Regions from separate parts of the Homo sapiens genome. Here region 1 is linked to region 2. Evidence: promoter capture Hi-C in 16 types of primary human blood cells and fetal thymus (Javierre and others, 2016). All regions are on one chromosome and are shown on one strand. Each heading gives the region's core, a stretch centred on a gene start or on the middle of the fragment in contact. The rest is flanking DNA. Distances are from core to core; before and after follow the strand shown.

Region 1 (3,998 bases), core at 1,182-3,681, 2.6 Mb before region 2:
CATGATTCTAAGATGCAACTGTATATTTTTTAAATAAATATAATTCAAATGCAGAAGACACCTTGTTTGTAAAATTCTAAATATCTTTAAAATGAAAATTATGACTATCAAGCTGCAAATTTAAAAAAACTCTAAGGAAGAAGAGTTACTGCCATATTCAAGTACAAAAAAAAAAAAAACCTTAAAGTTACCCTTTTAACAAAAATACCATGATCCATAAGCCAAGATGAGAGAAATTTGGTAAACCACAAATCCCTTCAAAGCATCTTATTAGGCTTCCAGTTCAGCCAACAGCATGCCACTTAGAATGTAAAAAAAAAAAAAAATCAGAGGAAATATCATTTTCTACAACTGGACACACTGATATAACTCACTGTAACTCATGAAAAAAAACTACAAATCCATGAAAAAATTTCATGAAAAAATTTCATGAATTCAGTTATTCATAAAAAATTTGTCTATAATTAAATTCCATAATTATAATCATAGAATTATACTATACACATAAGAAAGCCATTCCAAAAAAATTATGAATTCTTTCACTAAGTAAATATTAATCCTCTATTATAAACATATTTTTCTAGAAATTTATGTTTATAAAAGAAACTTCCATGTTATAAGCAACAATAACACGATACTTACATAGCTTTTACTTCAAATATGGATAAAGCTTATATAAACATATGTTAAGTGTGTTTACAAAAGAAGTAATAGATTAGGTAGTACGCCAGTTTTACAACTGAAAACAATCAACAAAATCTCTTCTCTGTAGTTAAATTCTCTTATATTGCCACTTTAAATAATTCCTCCAGAAGCCAAACTTTGTTAACGATCAGTTTCTTTCATTAGTAGAGCTACAATGCAAAATCCTTGACAATGCACTCTGACTGTAACTTTATTCACAAACTAATTTACCTACCTTCCTAACATTATCCATTCCATATTTCACTGTTTTAAGTCAACTATAACATCATTATACAAAATACATACATCTCTAATAAAAATGACTAATTTTATATCATATCACATTGGTGATTCCTCACCAAACTCCCACAATCCACCTAGTAGTAAAAATAGGTCTCTAGACCTTTGGGAAACAAAGCAGAAAAATTACAGCCACCGCTCTGTTGAAGAAGTCCTACACTTTAGTGCATGCTTAAAACTTCACTCTGCCCAGCTTTTAATTCTTTGGCCAAGGCATGTGAGAAACAGCACCTAAAAACCAAGTATTTATGAGTATCCTTACATAGGAAGAAAAAATAAACAGGAAAAAGAAAGAAAAATATACTGACAAAGGCGACTGAGACAAAGGTATTGTTTAAGGTAGAAACTCCTCTTTTTTTTGAAGTTTCATTAGTTCTCCTTTCTTTTCTGTCATTCAGGGCACAGTAATAGGTATTTCACTATTTCACCTTACATTTTTATTTAATGTGTTAAACTAAAACTGAAAATTTTAAAAAATCATTTTAGATTTAATATTAAAGGTTTCCAAACTCTAACGAGTCACTGAGTGTCCTATATGAATTTTATTGGTTTACTTACTAAATAAATAGAATTAAGTTTGATAATCAGTTTTTTAAATGCCCATGACTTCCACATATTTTTGAGAATCCACTTAAATTTTCATATGACATTTTCATGAGTGTATTGGACAATAAAGCCCTAAATCTACAGTTCAAGAAAATTACACTTCAAATGACTAATTTATACTCCACAATTAATATAATTAACAACTTAGTAATAAACAGCTCCTTTTGTCATTTATTCTTTTCTCCAAAAGTTTCTATTTAAAAATCTATTGCATTCTTTAAATACATACAAAGAAATTTTAAACCTAACTCTTTAAATTCCAAATATCATTGCAGTTACAAAATCTTAGGTAGATTTGGGGATATACTATCTCAGTATTACTTTATTTCTAGTGACTCTAAGCTTAATGGTAAAGTTCTCTAAAATAACGTCTGCATACTGAAACTTCATGTCAGATTTTCATTGCTCTGAAGAGTTAAATTTCTTTTTTATCTCAAGAGAAACATTTCACTTCCTTTCTTAGTCTACCGTATATCTAAAAAACCCCATCTGTTAAGAACTGATTCAGCACACATTGCTACTGCTGCAGAGTCCAAACTGGTTATACATTCAAATCAGTTTCCAGGTTGTGAAAGCTCTACTGCCTCTTACCAGGTTAAAATGTATTAAGTAAGCATAGGAATACTTACTAAAATAGCCTAATATAATCTAACTTAAAAATGATATTGGTTAGATCAAAACTGCAACTAAAAATGTGTTCCTTTAAATTACAGAAATACAGTTACCTGCTAACATACTAACAGTTTGAGATTTATCTTCTTTTAAAAAGAAATGGCAAGTACTGACCTCTTATTTGCAGCTAGTTAAAATTAAAACTCAAGAAAACTGTATTTCTAGTAGTGTTCTGAAAAGAACTTGGTTATATCAACTTAGTGACATTCCCTCAAACTTACACTGACTTTTCATGATGATTTATTTGAAAGGTACAAAAAAGTAAAAAGAGGTGTTTTGTTTTAAACAGCAATGAATATAACAAAGACAGATAATCTCCTTTGACCTGACACACTAGCAAAAGGAAAAAAACAGCTTCAACTTTTCTGTGCATTTACGAGGTTCATAAACCGTAGACATTATCTAATGCATGTCTCAGGACACCACTGATGTAGCTGCAGCTTTCTCTCAGTTTTCCAATAGAGTAAGTAAAAATAATTGCTTAGCTGAAAAATGACTGCATGGGTGTTACAAAGTACCCCTGTAAGCATATTGTTATATTCCTGTGACCCCACACCAAATACAATACTCAACTGATTGCTCTCGATTTATGTCTTGCCTCCCAAAGCCCAACCTTACAGTATGTCAAAGACTAGATCTATTGCAGAGAAAACTGTTTAAAAAGCTTGGCTGCATTTAAAAACAAAACAAAACAAAACAAAACCTCCATTTACAAAGCACTAAATATGAACTACTGTTAATTATCCTCAATGTATGATTCTCCTCTCCTTCTTTCCATTTCTTTCCCTGACATCTTAAACGCTTCTGAGCCTCTCTGTAGATAGCGCAAAACATTAAGTCATACACACTTCTGCAGTAACTCTTTCTTACCATGAAAGGAACCAAAACCTAGGGCTGCGTTTAAAACCTTTCCTTTAGTCTTTACCCACATGCCACACTACTGAAAGTAACCACAGAAATCAACCTGTGTGATTTGGTGTCCTCACACACCTTGTGTGCACAAAAAATGACTAAGAGATCAGTATATTCAGGGCAATATTACAAAGAAGGGACGGCTGCTTCTGAGATGGAGGGGGATGGATACAGACACAACACTCTCCATCATGGCCTTGGAATATTTAAAGACAGATGCAAAACTGCATCATTTTCTGTCTCCTTCGAAAACATCACACCCCAGCTGCTCAAGTTGGAAGCTAATGCGCTTCTCACATTTCAGCAGCACGGGGGAATTTAGGCTCCAGGGGCAAGGCTGTCATCCTCGGAGAGCGACACCAAGGACAATTAAGTGTGAGAAAAAGAACCCCAGAGAACAGGAGGCCTCCTCACCTCCTAACTAAACTCTAAAGTCGACCCAAAACCTTCACCGCGGGTACTGGGTTACTCGCGGTCCTAAAAAGTGAGAAGAAGCGGTGTTAAGTTGGGCACTGCGCTCAGGTGGCAGGAGAGGACCAGAAAGAGGAGAGGAGGGAGGTGGCGTGGCTCTAGCAGCGCGCAGGCAGGTCACCCGCTGGGCAATACCGGCTGAACGCTCTGCGCTCCCAGGGACGCGCGGCGCGTGTGACCCTGGGGGTGAAGGGTGGGAGGGAAAGGCGCTGGGGACGGTGTATGTGGGGACTGGGGAAGCAGATTGAGAGCACGCCTTTTCCTTACCAGGTTGAGCACCGTCTCCACGATGTCCCTGTTGCTGACCTCTCCGACCTGTATGAGTCCAATCAACACTGCGAATTTCATCCGGA
Region 2 (3,693 bases), core at 1-2,500:
TGTGACGTACTGGGTTTTTAGCAAGCATTTTTTAGAAAACACTTTCTCGGTGTAATTTATAAAGTTATATAAAATTTGTCAATACCTGCTTTGTTGCAGCGTGTCTTAAAAATTTCAAAAAATGTTGGCCTCTCTTTGGATCCAATAGGCATTTTTACCTACGATATTCCTCCAATGCTTGGTAAATAAGTCTGCAAAACAGAAGACCAAAATGCACTTACACAGGGATGCATTCCTTATTATGTGACTGAGGTAAAACTCAGAAGCGCTGGAAAATTTGTTTGAATTCTAATTCAGTCCCATCTCCTGGAACGGTAACAGCTTACTGTGAGGATGGGAACATTTTACAGCTGTGCTGTCCAAACCGGTGCCACTAGCCACATTAAGCACTCGAAACGTGGCTAGTGCGACTAGAGAAGAGGATTTTCATACGATTTAGTTTCAATCACGCTAACCAGTGACGCGTGGCTAGTGGGGACAGAGGGCTCCAGTTAGAGACCAACGCCGCCTGGTAATTCCCATCAGCATGTCTTCGGAATACAGCAATTACCAGGGGCTTAAGTAAGGCAAATACAGCGTGCCCAGCAGCTGTAAAACACTTCCCCAAAACAGCAATATTCCGTTAAAGTGATCGTGTTTCCAAGAAATTTCAGATGGCGTCATCTGGGACAGCTGGGAGGGAAGTTAAGTCTTGAGCTGAAGGCGGAGCCCAAAGGCCGGGCCGGAGGCGGGAAATGGAGACCCAGGGAAGGGGCGGGGCTCGAATTTGCTTGGCGAAAATCTGCCTTCGGGCAAGGACCTTTCTCTCAGGCATGGGTGGGGGTTGGCAGAGACAAAAGGGCAAGAAGCCGCGGCAGCGACCCGGGGCGTGAGGCGCTCCCCCGCCACGCTGGACTGGGACTGCGGAAGACGCGCTCGTCCCAACCCACTACCACCACCACTAACCCGCTCCAGAGGTGCAGTTCTTTTTTGGCCGGAGTAAGCTGACAAAAACCGCGCCGGTCACAAATCTGTCCCCTCACGCTTCTCCCGGCGGCGACCCACCGCCGCAAAAGACACCCGAGGCGCAGCAGAGGCGCAGCAGTGCCACAGCGGCTCCGCCTCTGCCGCCTAGTTTCAGAAGCTCGCGCCACAAGCCCGCGCTGGCCACGTGACGCCGTGACGCGACACGCAGCACACGCACCACCCGGAAGTCAGGCCTGGGTGGGCCGCTGCGGGTATTTCTCAGTGTGGCGAAAGGAAATTCCTTGTCAGGCATCCCAACCGTCAGTATCTGACCGAATAAAGCGGGAGCTGGAGTGTGTGTTCTCTTCTCGCTGACCCTTAAGAGTCCCAGGCCACCCTGCTTGGAGGGGCCGCCCCTATGCCTACTCCAAGTCCCCCATCCCTTTCTTTTTGCTCCAGCTCATGTTTGGGTGGGCGCCCTCGGGACACGACCTGGGACCTATGAAATACCTTTGTTCTGACCTTAAAAGGGATGTTCTCTCAAGACCTGTTCCCCAAAGCGAGCCGATCTTACAAAAGCTTAGAGTGGTCGGTGTGTGGTTGTGGATGACTTCACTTAGTGGTAGTGGGCGGGGCTGTTATTTGAAATCAGAGGATTTTAGTTCCAGTAGCTGTTCTGCTATTGGGTAGCAGGTGTTCAAGACCTCCGAGCCCGTTTCCTTGCTTGAAAAATTGTGAAACCCATCTTAACTCGCTCATGAAGTGTGAGGTACCTTGCTCCGCAGGGCTTGGTAGTATCTTTTGCTTTTTTTTTTGAGACGGAGTTTCGCTCTTGTGGCCCGGGCTGGTGTGCAATGGCGCAATCTCCGCTCACCGCAACTTCCGCCTCCAGGGATCAAGTGGTTCTCCTGCCTCAGCCTCCCGAGTAGCTGGGAATACAGGCATGGGCCACCACGCACGGCTAACTTTGCATTTTTAAGTAGAGACGGGGTTTCTCCGTTGTTGGTCAGTCTGGTCTCAACCTCCCGACCTCAGGTGATCTGCCTGCCTCGGCCTCCCAAAGCGCTGGGATTACAGGCATGAGCCACCACACCCGGCCCATCTTTTGCATTCTTAGGATTCGGATCACCTGTCTTCCTCGCAGGCTGAACTGGAAGACCTGACTTCATCTCCGAATTCGTTGGTTCTGTAACATGCCTAATACAAGGCTGAATAGGGTTTGTTGTAAGACCTACAAAACCTTCAAATGGATTCAGTGAGAGTTGCTCCCATGGGGGCCTTGCTGCTTCCAGAAGGTGCTTGAGCAGTAAACAGAAGCAACCTTGGATTAGGAAAAGGGTGGGCTCCGCTTGGTTCCTTAGGGACCATTTTAGTTTGATAATCAGTAATCCTTAGTTGTAGAAGGAGGCCTTACTAATGCAGATAGATTCTAAAGCTTTTGCTCTAAGTCTAATTCGCAAAGAAATACGTCTGTGATCCTTACTAATAACAGCTGCCACTTACCAAACATTTTATGAGTTAGGCATTCTGCTTTGGGTTTTCAAGCAATACCATGTTTAATCTTACAGTAATCCTGTAAATTGGTCAGTATTGTCAGATGAGGATACTGAATCAAGTAGTTAAGTAATGTGCCTGGTAGTAAGGCCCAGGTTTGAATTCTAGTCCATTTGACTTCATACACTTAACTAACCTGTGATTTATTTACCCTATAAATCAGAACAATATGCTTTGTCCCCTTTTTGTGGGGGAGGGGTGTCTCACTAGGAGTGGACTAATGAGAACCCGTGGCATGTCACACAAGTCTCAGAAATAACATTTTCTGTCATTTTATACAGCCCCCCATACCTTTATGTTTCTTGTTCTCTTTGTACCAGGGACTTGCAACTTATTAGCTCCACCATAATAGACTTTCTCACCTATTCTCTTCTAGTGCAGCTGCTCAATTTACTATTTGTATTCAATTTACAATATGCTTTAATTTTTCTTAAAAACATTATTTCCAGCTGGGCATGGTGGCTCACGCCTGTAATCACAGCACTTTGGGAGGCCAAGGTGGGCAGATCACCTGAGGTCAGGAGTTCGAGACCAGCCTGGCCAACATGGCAAAACCCTGTCTCTACTAAAAATACAAAAATTAACTGGGTGTGGTGGCATGTGCCTGTAATCCCAGCTACTTGGGAGGCTGAGGTGGGAGAATCACTTGAACCCCAGAGGCGGAAGTTGCAGTGAGCCGAAATCATGCCACTGCACTCCTGCCTGGGAGACAGAGCAAGGAAACTCCATTTCAAACAAGCAAACAAACAAAAACCCAAAAAACCATTATTTCCTAAAAGTTGTATATATTTAATGTGCACAACATGTATATGTACACAGTGAGATGATTACTATAGTCAAGCAATTAACATATCCATCTGTTCACATAATTACCTTTCTTTTGTGTGCGGTGAGAGCACCTGAAATTTCTCTTTGAAACTTTTCAGTATAAAATACAGTATTGTTAACTGTAGTCGTTATGCTGTAAATTAGATCTCTAGACTCATTCATTCTACCTAACTGTAACATTTTAGGCTCTGACCAGTCTCTCTCCATTCCCCCCAACTTCCTGTCCCTGGTAACCACCATTCTACTTTCTGCTTCTATGTATTTGACTTTTTCAGATTCCACATATCAGTGAGTTTATGCAGTATTTTTCTATCTGGCTTATTTCACTTAGCATAATGTTCCCCAGTTTCACCCATGTTGTTGCAA

The links. Contacts are between HindIII fragments. The CHiCAGO score rates a contact against its expected background, and 5 or more counts as called.
Region 1: a fragment that was not itself captured here is called in contact with the fragment with the promoter of ZAR1L in region 2 in 1 of 17 cell types (total B cells); the score reaches 5.8 in total B cells.

The regions. Positions count from the first base shown.
Region 1 is chr13:34,943,029-34,947,026 of GRCh38, reverse strand. It overlaps NBEA (neurobeachin), which reads right to left. Exons shown (of 59, transcript NM_001385012.1): 1 at 3,913-3,998. Among named protein-coding and RNA genes, the nearest start is that of NBEA, 2.8 kb to the right of the region's middle. RefSeq lists a silencer at 3,117-3,206. The HindIII fragment of the contact is 994 bases long and covers 1,935-2,928 here.
Region 2 is chr13:32,312,920-32,316,612 of GRCh38, reverse strand. ZAR1L (zygote arrest 1 like) reads left to right here and starts at 1,250. Exons shown (of 6, transcript NM_001136571.2): 1 at 1,250-1,298; 2 at 2,063-2,283. BRCA2 (BRCA2 DNA repair associated) reads right to left here and starts at 1,105. Exons shown (of 27, transcript NM_000059.4): 1 at 946-1,105; 2 at 86-191. The coding sequence starts at 152. RefSeq lists an enhancer at 446-715, a promoter at 824-1,320, a cis regulatory region at 1,649-1,715 and a silencer at 1,834-2,054. The HindIII fragment of the contact is 7,545 bases long and covers 1-1,526 here.